2 separate regions of the Homo sapiens genome follow, and region 2 is linked to region 1. The links are contacts of gene promoters, found by promoter capture Hi-C in human tissues and cell types (Jung and others, 2019). All regions are on one chromosome and are shown on one strand. The core of a region is centred on a gene start or on the middle of the fragment in contact, and the rest is flanking DNA. Distances in the headings are between cores, read along the strand shown.

Evidence for each region. The method cuts DNA at HindIII sites, captures the fragments that hold promoters and counts their contacts. A contact is called where the count stands out against the background at its distance.
Region 2: a contact is called between a fragment that was not itself captured here and the fragment with the promoter of UBA52 in region 1, in 1 of the 25 tissues and cell types used here (mesenchymal stem cells).

The regions. Positions count from the first base shown.
Region 1 is chr19:18,568,903-18,573,413 of GRCh38, forward strand. UBA52 (ubiquitin A-52 residue ribosomal protein fusion product 1) reads left to right here and starts at 2,955. Exons shown (of 5, transcript NM_001033930.3): 1 at 2,955-3,007; 2 at 4,391-4,501. The coding sequence starts at 4,399. It overlaps KXD1 (KxDL motif containing 1), which reads left to right. Exons shown (of 5, transcript NM_024069.4): 5 at 1-476. RefSeq lists enhancers at 2,289-2,965, 2,336-2,455, 2,666-3,005, 3,644-4,320. The HindIII fragment of the contact is 7,230 bases long and covers 744-4,511 here.
Region 2 is chr19:18,742,661-18,747,171 of GRCh38, forward strand. CRTC1 (CREB regulated transcription coactivator 1) reads left to right here. Exons shown (of 14, transcript NM_015321.3): 2 at 250-366; 3 at 3,163-3,300; 4 at 4,393-4,454. Among named protein-coding and RNA genes, the nearest start is that of COMP, 46 kb to the right of the region's middle. The HindIII fragment of the contact is 7,147 bases long and covers 1-4,511 here.

The DNA of each region.
Region 1 (4,511 bases), core at 1,705-4,204:
ACAGGGGAATTTTTCCAGAGCTGAGCCTGACGTCTGCTCTGAAGAATGCTTAGAAGGTTCCCAGACACCAGAGCCAGATGTCCCCCACCACCGGTCAGGACCTCCTTGAGGTGCACAAGCACGGTCTCCTCTGAGTTCACCCCAGCCCACCCCCGCACCCACTAATTCTGCTTTTCCTGCCCCTTGCTCCGTAAAAGTATCAAATACTTTCTCCTTGGTATCTCAAGGAGGTTTCTGAGATAGGTAGAAGTCTTGAGACGGAGGCTGGCCATCCATTCAGCCCTGAGCGTGCTGAGTTCTGTGTTTCTCTGAATAGAGGTGTGGAACCTGAGGGGCCAGCAGGCCTCTCTGAAGGCCTCCATGGAGCAAACGGAGCCACCTCGGGAAAGAGTTTAATGGAATATTTTTGTACCCGATGTTTACAGATGCTGTTGGGAAGTTATCAATAAAAAGACACCATTACTAAAAAGGGAAAAGTACACCTAGCTGTGGCTTCTTCAGTCCTTAAGCCAAGCAACCCAAAAGGAGGGCAAGTGCTGGATGTGGGGCTGGGGGCCCTGCTGGAGGGAGGTGCAGACAATCAGGCACTACAGGGCTAGAAAGAGATGTGGCCCTTTTTTGGAACCCCCCCTGGTGGGAGCTATAACAACCCAAGTTCCCGTCACCAGCTAGGTCTTCCCTCACGCTGCTGTCACTGCTCACAATACTAGTGTTCCCATCCTCATTTCATAATTCCTTCTCCAGATCTCAGCCTTCCTCCAGATAGGGGAGCCACACTAGATCCATTCCCCATCAGACACACTCCCAGGGTTACCTCATCTTCTGAGTACTTAGAAATTATGTTGTTATGACCGGGCTTGGTGGCTCATGCCTGTAATCCCAGCACTTTGGGAGGCCGAGGTGGGTGGATCACCTGAGGTCAGGAGTTCGAGACCAGCCTGGCCAACATGGTGAAACCCCATCTCTACCAAAAATATAAAAATTAGCTGGGTGTGGTGGTGTACACCTGTAATCCCAGCTACTTGGGAGGCTGAGGCAGAATTGCTTGAATCCAGGAGGCAGAGGTTGCAGTGAGCCAAGATCGCACCACTGCACTCTAGCCTGGGCAAAAAGACCAAAACTGTTGTCTCAAAAAAGAAAAGGAAATTAGGTTCTTAAAGGCATCTTCCCAGACGTGAGAGTGTCTGCTTTTGCCTGGTATAGTAGTGCCTGCAAATGTTCAAGGAAATAAACAGGTACCCCTGTTAAGCCTATAGGTAACTTCTCATTGCTCCCCATCTTCTCTGTACTCAGCACTTTTTTTTTTTGTTTTGTTTTTGAGACAGCACCTCTCTGTTGCCCAGGCTGGAGTGCAGTGGCTGAATCATGGGTCACTGCAATCTCAAACCTATGGGTTCAGGCAATCCTCCTGCCTCCGAAGTAGCTGGGACTGCAGGTGCGCACCACCACACCTGGATAGTTCAAAATAAAACTTTTTTTTGTAGAGACAGGGTCTCACTATGTCTTCCAGGCTGGTCGTGAATTCCTGACCTCAAGTAATCCTCCCTCTTTGACCTTCCAAAGTGCTGGGATTACAAGTGTGAACCACTGCACCCGCCGTGGCACTTTTTTTTTTTTTTTTTTTTTTTGAGATGGAGTCTCACTCTGTCACCCAGGCTGGGTGCAGTGGCGTGAACTCAGCTCACTGCAACCTCCACCTCCCGGATTCAAGCGATTCTCCTGCCTCAGCCTCCTGAGTAGCTGGGATTACAGGCACCCGCCACCACACCTGAAAAATTTTTGTAATTTTTTTTTTCTTTTTTGAGACGGAGTTTTGCTCTTGTTGCCCAGGCTGTAGTGCAATGGCACTCTCTCGGCTAATTGCAACCTCTGCCTCCCGGGTTCAAGCGATTCTCCTGCCTCAGCCTCCTGAGTAGCTGGGATTACAGGCATGCGCCACCACGCCCAGCTAATTTTGTATTTTTAGTAGAGATGCGGTTTCTCCATGTTGGTCAGGCTCGTCTCGAACTCCCGACCTCAGGTGATCCGCACATCTCGGCCTCCCAAAGTGCAGGCGTGAGTCACCGGACCCAGGTCCCGCCCTGGCACTTTTTAACCACCCACAAATCTGGATCCTACACTGAAAAGAGACACTGCAGTGGCTCACGTCTGTAATCCCAGCACTTTGGGAGGCCAAGGCGGGCGGATCACCTGAGGTCGCGAGTTTGAGACCAGCCTGACCAACATGGAGAAACCCCGTCTCTACTAAAAATACAAAAGTGGCCAGGCATGGTGTCGCACACTTGTAATCGCAGCTACTCGGGAGGCTGAGGCAGGAGAATTGCTTGAACCCAGGAGGCGGAGGTTGCGGTGAGCCGAGATCGCGCCATTGCACTACAGCCTGGGCAACGAGAGCGAAACTCCGTCTCAAAAAAAAAAAAAAAAAAAATCCTGAGTCCCGCTTGACACCTTTTGTCAGGCACCACCACCTTTCTGGGCGAATGCGGTAGTACCGTCTGCTCTCCCTGCTGCTGTCCTGAAATCCATTCAGGCACAGCGGCCGAGAGCTTTATAATAACCGATTCCAGGTGTTAGGTGCTTTCCCAGCCCCGACTCCTGCGTCCTGGACCCGCAGTCCTCTGCTTAATACCTTTGCTTTATTAGAAAACATTCTCCTCTACTCCGTTCAGCTATTCGCTGAGGGCCCGCCAACCGCCAGCGGTTGTCAGTGGCCTAGAGGCAGCGGACGCAAACACGGGGAGAGGTGCAATCGTCTCAAGTGACTCGGCGGGCGGGGCCCACAACCGGAAGCGGGTGGGCGACCTTCACCCACGTGCGCTGCGGCTTCGTTCGCCAGCATCCAAGATGGCGGCAGGGCGGGGCCCAAGGCGCGGCGCGAATTGTGACGCAGGCGTCCGGCGTGCTCCGTGCGCAAGCGCTTTCGGCGGCGATTAGGTGGTTTCCGGTTCCGCTATCTTCTTTTTCTTCAGCGAGGCGGCCGAGCTGGTTGGTGGCGGCGGTCGTGCGGGTTCGCGCCGGGCCGAGAGCGGGTTGGGGGCTGCGGGAGGCTGCAGGGGCCTGGGCGGCAGAAGAGGCGGCCCTGAGCTGGCTCATGCGGGCCAGTCTCGGCAGGGTGGCTGGGCAGGGCTCGCGAGGCCACGGCTCGGAGCCCAGACCGGGGCCCAGGAGGCGAGCGCCGTTTTGGAGAGGAGCCTGCCTGCTCTGCCTGCCAGCGTGACCCCACGAGGCCTCGGGCGGGAAGAGGTCCTCGGGGCAGATCCGAGTTAATGAGAGAGGGGTATTGAGCGTGTAGCGTTAACTCTGCCAGTCACTGCGTCAGTCGCTTTGGAAATACTAAATTTCTCGAGCTGAGTCTTCATACCTGGCTCCATTACTACGTCTGTAAGGAGGAGCTGGTGGTAGTGTCTGCTTTTTAGACTTTTCTTTAGACTATTTGTATTTTTTTCAGATGGAGTCTTGCTCTGTCGCCTAAGCTGGAGTTCAGTGGTGCGGTCTCGGCTCACTGCAATCTCCACCTCCCGGGCTCGAGCGATTCTTCTGCCTCAGCCTCCCGAGTAGCTGGGATTATAGGCGCCTGCCACCACGCCCAGTTGATTTTTGTAGTTTTAGTAGAGACGGAGTTTCACCATGTTAGCCAGGCTCATCTTGAACTCTTGACCTCAAATGATCCGTCTGCCTCGGCCTTCCAAAGTGCTGGGATTACAGGCATGAGCCCCTGCGCCCGGTCGATTCTTTGTCTTTTTAAGTCAACTTTTATATGTGAACAATGCTTGGCAGGTGGTTGGTAGATACTAAGTGATGTTCGTGGTTTGGGGTCAAGGCAAGAAGTGGGGTCTGGAGAGTTTTGGTGTAATTGAGAAGGAAGCTAAGAGTGTTGGGTGCTCCAGCTTGGAGTTAGAGAGGAGAGAGGCTGCGACAGGAAGGCATGTGTGTTGTAGGGGATGGCTTCCCATCCAGGCTGGCAGCAGGAGCAGCCTGTGCAGATCAGGACCTGGCTGCCGTGGAAGAGGGTGGGACCGCCTTCAGGGAAGATGGATCTAGCAAGATGATGCCAAAGGGTACTTATTCCATCAGGAGATACTGACGAGTCCTTCCGCCGCTAAACCTAAGGAGAATAACCACAGTCTGTGTTCCTGAAGAGCACCCGTGCGGTCAGGAGGGTGGAGGACATGTGGTCTTTAGTTCCAGGACATGTTTAGACTACAGGCCAGGGTGTGTGAGAAGCCTAGCAGGGCCAGGCTTGGAGGAGTGAAAGGAAGACAGGTACTGGGGCAGGACCAGTTGGACTTGGTGCAGGCAAAGGGATAGCAACTGTGGTGTAGGCACCTGAGCTTGTGCTACTCAGGCATGCATTGCTCACCAGTCTATCCTGCCTCCCTTCCTCCTGCAGACGCAAACATGCAGATCTTTGTGAAGACCCTCACTGGCAAAACCATCACCCTTGAGGTCGAGCCCAGTGACACCATTGAGAATGTCAAAGCCAAAATTCAAGACAAGGAGGGTGAGTAGGG
Region 2 (4,511 bases), core at 792-3,291, 170 kb after region 1:
CGGTCATGGGTTTCTGCATGGTGCATTGCCCCGCCTGGGGAGCCGTCCCGGCACCTCGGGTTTCTGATTCTGCCATTTTTGGTGGAGGGACACCTGGTTTCCTTAAGCATCTGGGTCATGAGGTCCTGCAAACTTCTGCACTTAGGCTGTCAATCCCACCACTTGGGTCTTTTTGTGCCTTTGGGGCTGGCACTCTGAGGTGAGCCTGGGAGGTGACCCCTCCCGCAGCTGCTGGCTTCTCTCTCGCAGCTCCAGCTCCAGAAATCCCAGTACCTGCAACTGGGCCCCAGCCGAGGCCAGTACTATGGCGGGTCCCTGCCCAACGTGAACCAGATCGGGAGTGGCACCATGGACCTGCCCTTCCAGGTGAGTGCCCCGCCCCCTGGCCCTGCCCCATTGTGGGGAGCTTCCCCCAGCCTCCCACTGGGGGCCAGACATTGAGGACAGCTGGGGTTATCAGACAGTTGGCGGAGCCCACCCAACCACTGCCTTCTCCTTGTCTGCCCTGGGAACCAGAGGAAGCAGAGTGGCCCCACCAGGGTGCCCCCGCAGCCCATTCCCCATCAGCAGACCCCGAGGCGAGCCCTCCATCTGGCCTCCAGCATTTCGGCAGCCGCTACACCTGTTGGCCGGCTGTGCGGCAGCGGGAACCGCTCGGGGCCACTGGGGCTTGGCTCTGTCCTGCCTCACTAATCCGCAAGCCCAGCAATTCTCAGAAGGAGGCCCGGCGGCCTGACCCCACTTGTCTGCAAACGTTTCTTGGCAGAGGCCCACACAGCGCGGCTCCCGCAGGCCGCACAGCCGCCGTGCACAGCCTTATCGTAAACAGGAGATAAGGCCCACAGCGGCCCTCTTCCCTGTCCCTGGTCTGCGGGTGGAGATGGGGATGGGGTGGGGCCGAGGGAGCTGGCCTATGAATCAGGGCCACCCCCAGGACGGTGTCTGGGCTCTGCATGGACAGGTCCCCCTGGGGGGGGGTCACACCTACTCTGTGGCTGAGAAAACCACCTCGGACACAGCCATGGCCACTGACAGGCCAGATGGAGCCGGGGCCCCTCCCAAGTCACCCACCAGCTCCACCGCCACCTGCACCGCCGCTGGACAGGGCAGGGATCCTTGGGCTGGCCACCACGGTGCGCCTCCTCCGGCATACAGAGTGCGGGCCATCACTGATGCTGGGCGTGTTCTTTGTCACAGCCCTTCCTGGCCAGGTTTTCTCCCCTCCTGCCCTTCTCTCCCTTTCCTGTTTCTCCTGTCCCCTCTTCCCTGGAGGAGAGTCTCTCTCTGGGCACCTTGCAAGCTCAGCCTGAGTGGGGCTGAGGGGCACAGGACCCTGTTGGGTGTCTGTCGCCCGAGGCCCACAGCCCGGGGGGAGGTCCCACGCATCCCGCCTTTGGGGCCAGGCAAGGCAGCAGCGTCTCAAAGTCTCGGTTCTTTGCATTTTCAGCCCAGCGGATTTCTGGGGGAGGCCCTGGCAGCGGCTCCTGTCTCTCTGGTAAATGAGCCCCCAGGCTGAGGCCGCGGCGTCCCCGGCGCCAGCCTGCAAGACCCCGACCCGTGTGCGGGCGCTGGGGATCCCTGAGCTCCCCAAGCGGCCGCCCCTGCGGCTCCCAGGGAGGTGGAGGTGTCCCGTCCGCCAAATGGAAATGGATCCACTCCGCACCCCCATCTCGGGAAGTGCGTATGGTCGCGTCGAGAGGCCCTGGGGACTCTTGGGGTCCATCTGGGGCAGATGCCATAGCCGCGCATCCCCATCTGGGGTCCAGCAGAGCAGAATCCCAGCATGTGCCCCAAAGCTGCATGGTCCGTCCCTATATACACACACACACAAACACACACACACACACACACATACACACACGTGTGCACGCATCTCCCAAACCAGGCCAGCAGGCAGGACGTGGCGAGCCCGGGTGTGGCCAGCCCCCGCTTCATTCTGCCTCTGACTTGGCTTTGGCTGCCTCAGTTTCCCTCTGGGCTTCAAGGCATCTCTGGAAGGAGATGAATTGCCCCTACCCTGAGGAGCCTGTGCACTGGACAGCACAGTTCCCACCCTCATCGTCACAGGCCCACGTCTCCCATGCCCACAGCCTTTTGGGGGCAAGAGCCACGGAAAGACCCAAACCAGCAGAGTTCATGCTGGATCGAAGAAAGACTTGGGGGTCCCCAGGGCTGGGGACAGTAGTCAGCCCTGAACTCTGGCCGAGGCTGGGACAAAGCAGCAATCCTAGCCATGGACAGGCTTCTGGAGAGGAGACTCACTTTAGTATCAGAGTCTCATTTTGCCCGGCTGCCCAGAGAAGGCATAAGGGCTCAGGGGCCAGATGGCCGGACTGGGGGATTGGCTGCATCCAAAGCTGGCAGAGCCTGCTGATCTCACCCCAGTCAGATGGCAAGTGGGCAACACAGGGTCAGGGCGGGCTCCTGGCAGCCCCGGGGGCATGAGGCCGGGCATGTAGCAGGGCCTGGGGAGGGCCAGCCTGGTGCCAGCCCCAGGTGCTGGGAGGAAGCCCCATCCAGCCAAGCAGTGGGCCATGGCTCCGGAAGGCGCCTGTACTTGGCTCTGGTGGTGCCTGGAGTGCCTGGAGGAGGCTGCGGGGGAGGGTGTGTGGGGGCCGCGTCTCAATCAAGAGCAGCCCTGGGCTCCACAAGGAAGCCTCCCAGGAACTCGCGCTTGGCCAGGTGGGCCCCGAAACAGTCCTGGGCTGGAAGCCCCTGGGCTGTCTCTTGGCAGGCCCCTCCAGGGATGACGTAGGTGGGGGTAGGAGGCCGTCCAGGCCCGGAGAGAGAGGGCGGAGGCCTGTCTGCACCTGGTGAGACTGGGGAGGAGGGCTGCCTAGGCCGGCTACATCCCTGGCACCCGGCGGGCGCTGGCCCCGAGCTTGTGCCGCTCTGCCTGGCCTGTGCATGCCAGCTGCACTGCACGCCCCTGCCACCCTGGCTCCCGGGACCCCAGCTCACACCCCCTCCCTACCCCCCAGTGCTTGGAGAGCCAGGGAGCTGGGGCTGAAGGAAGAAGCCCATCCCAGGCTGTGGAGCGATGGCCGAGGGTGCTCCAGAGTGGGGGGCCCTGCGATCAGACTCTGGGGCCAGCGCTGGGGCCACAGCTGGTAACCATTGTTTGGATTTCTCTCTCTCTGTTTCCATCTCCTCCTCCCCCAGACCCCCTTCCAATCCTCGGGCCTGGACACCAGCCGGACCACCCGGCACCATGGGCTGGTGGACAGGGTGTACCGGGAGCGTGGCCGGCTCGGCTCCCCACACCGCCGGCCCCTGTCAGTGGACAAACACGGACGGCAGATATCCTTTTCACCAGAGGATGAGGGTGGGGGCCAGGCCCTGTCGGTGCCGGCAGGACCCCAAGTTTACCCAGCAGGTTCTGACAGGGCTGCCTGCTTCCAGCTCTGGGGACAGAATCAGGGCAGCACCATCTGGGAGGCTTGATCTCAGGGCAGCCTGGGGGACTTCCTGGAGGAGGCTGTGCCACAAGCCCTGGAGCCTTTGGCCAGACTTGGGGGCTCAAGGGGCACAGGGAACAGCTCTCAAGGCAGGAGTTGAGGAAGGTTATACCTGACCACAGAGGGCTTAGACACCTGGCAGGGCAGTGGGGCCAGGAAGGCCGTGAGCAGGGAGCCCACAGTCAGGGCTGTGAGCTGATGAGGCCTCTCCTACGCGCTGCACGGAGGGCAGCCCAGCCAAGGCAATGGGGCTAAGGGGGTCTGTGTGAGACCCGGACGCATCCAAGGGAGGCTCCATCTCTGTAAGACAGGAGTAAAATTCGCCTCTGCGACTCGGTCACGCAGAGATCAGCCAGAGTCCCCCCCTCCCCCCCAACTCAGCCGCCCCTTGGTGCTCAGCCAGCCGGGCCCCACAACACCAGAGTCTGAGCGGCCTCAGGTTGCTCCCGGGATCCCCCGGCTCTCCAGAACAGAGAAGCTTGTTCTCCGGTTCTCATTTCCGTGGGCTGGGGGAGCTTGACCAGCTGGGCCCCAGACTGAGCCCTTGGGCCCCAGGAGCCACCCCGTCAGCCCAGGATGGAGAGTCCAGACCAGGGTCAGCTGAACTCAGACTCCACAGCGTCCCCACAGGCCCTACTTTCACAGCCCAGAACCCCCTCCCTTGGAAGGGGTGCAGCCCGCACGTGTGCTCACGGAGCAGAGTGCTGAGTGCTAGGTGGACAGGGCTGTACCCCTGGAGAGCCCCTGGAACGGGGGCTGCTTGTAGCCAGGCAGGAAAGGCCGGCAGGAAACGCCCCCCGCCCTACTGGTCCCAGCTGTTTGCAGGCCTCAGGCCGACCCCAGCCAGCCAGCCGGGGCTTCCTGCCCTGGGCTGAGAGTGTGTTGTTGGAGGCGGGGTCTCAGCCAGTGGCACTGCCCCCTTAACTCACCTCACGCCGACAGCTGCCCCTATGGCACCATGTACCTCTCACCACCCGCGGACACCAGCTGGAGAAGGTCAGTGGCTGGACACCCCCCCCCCGCCCCCTTCTTGTTGGAAACAAAACCAAACTC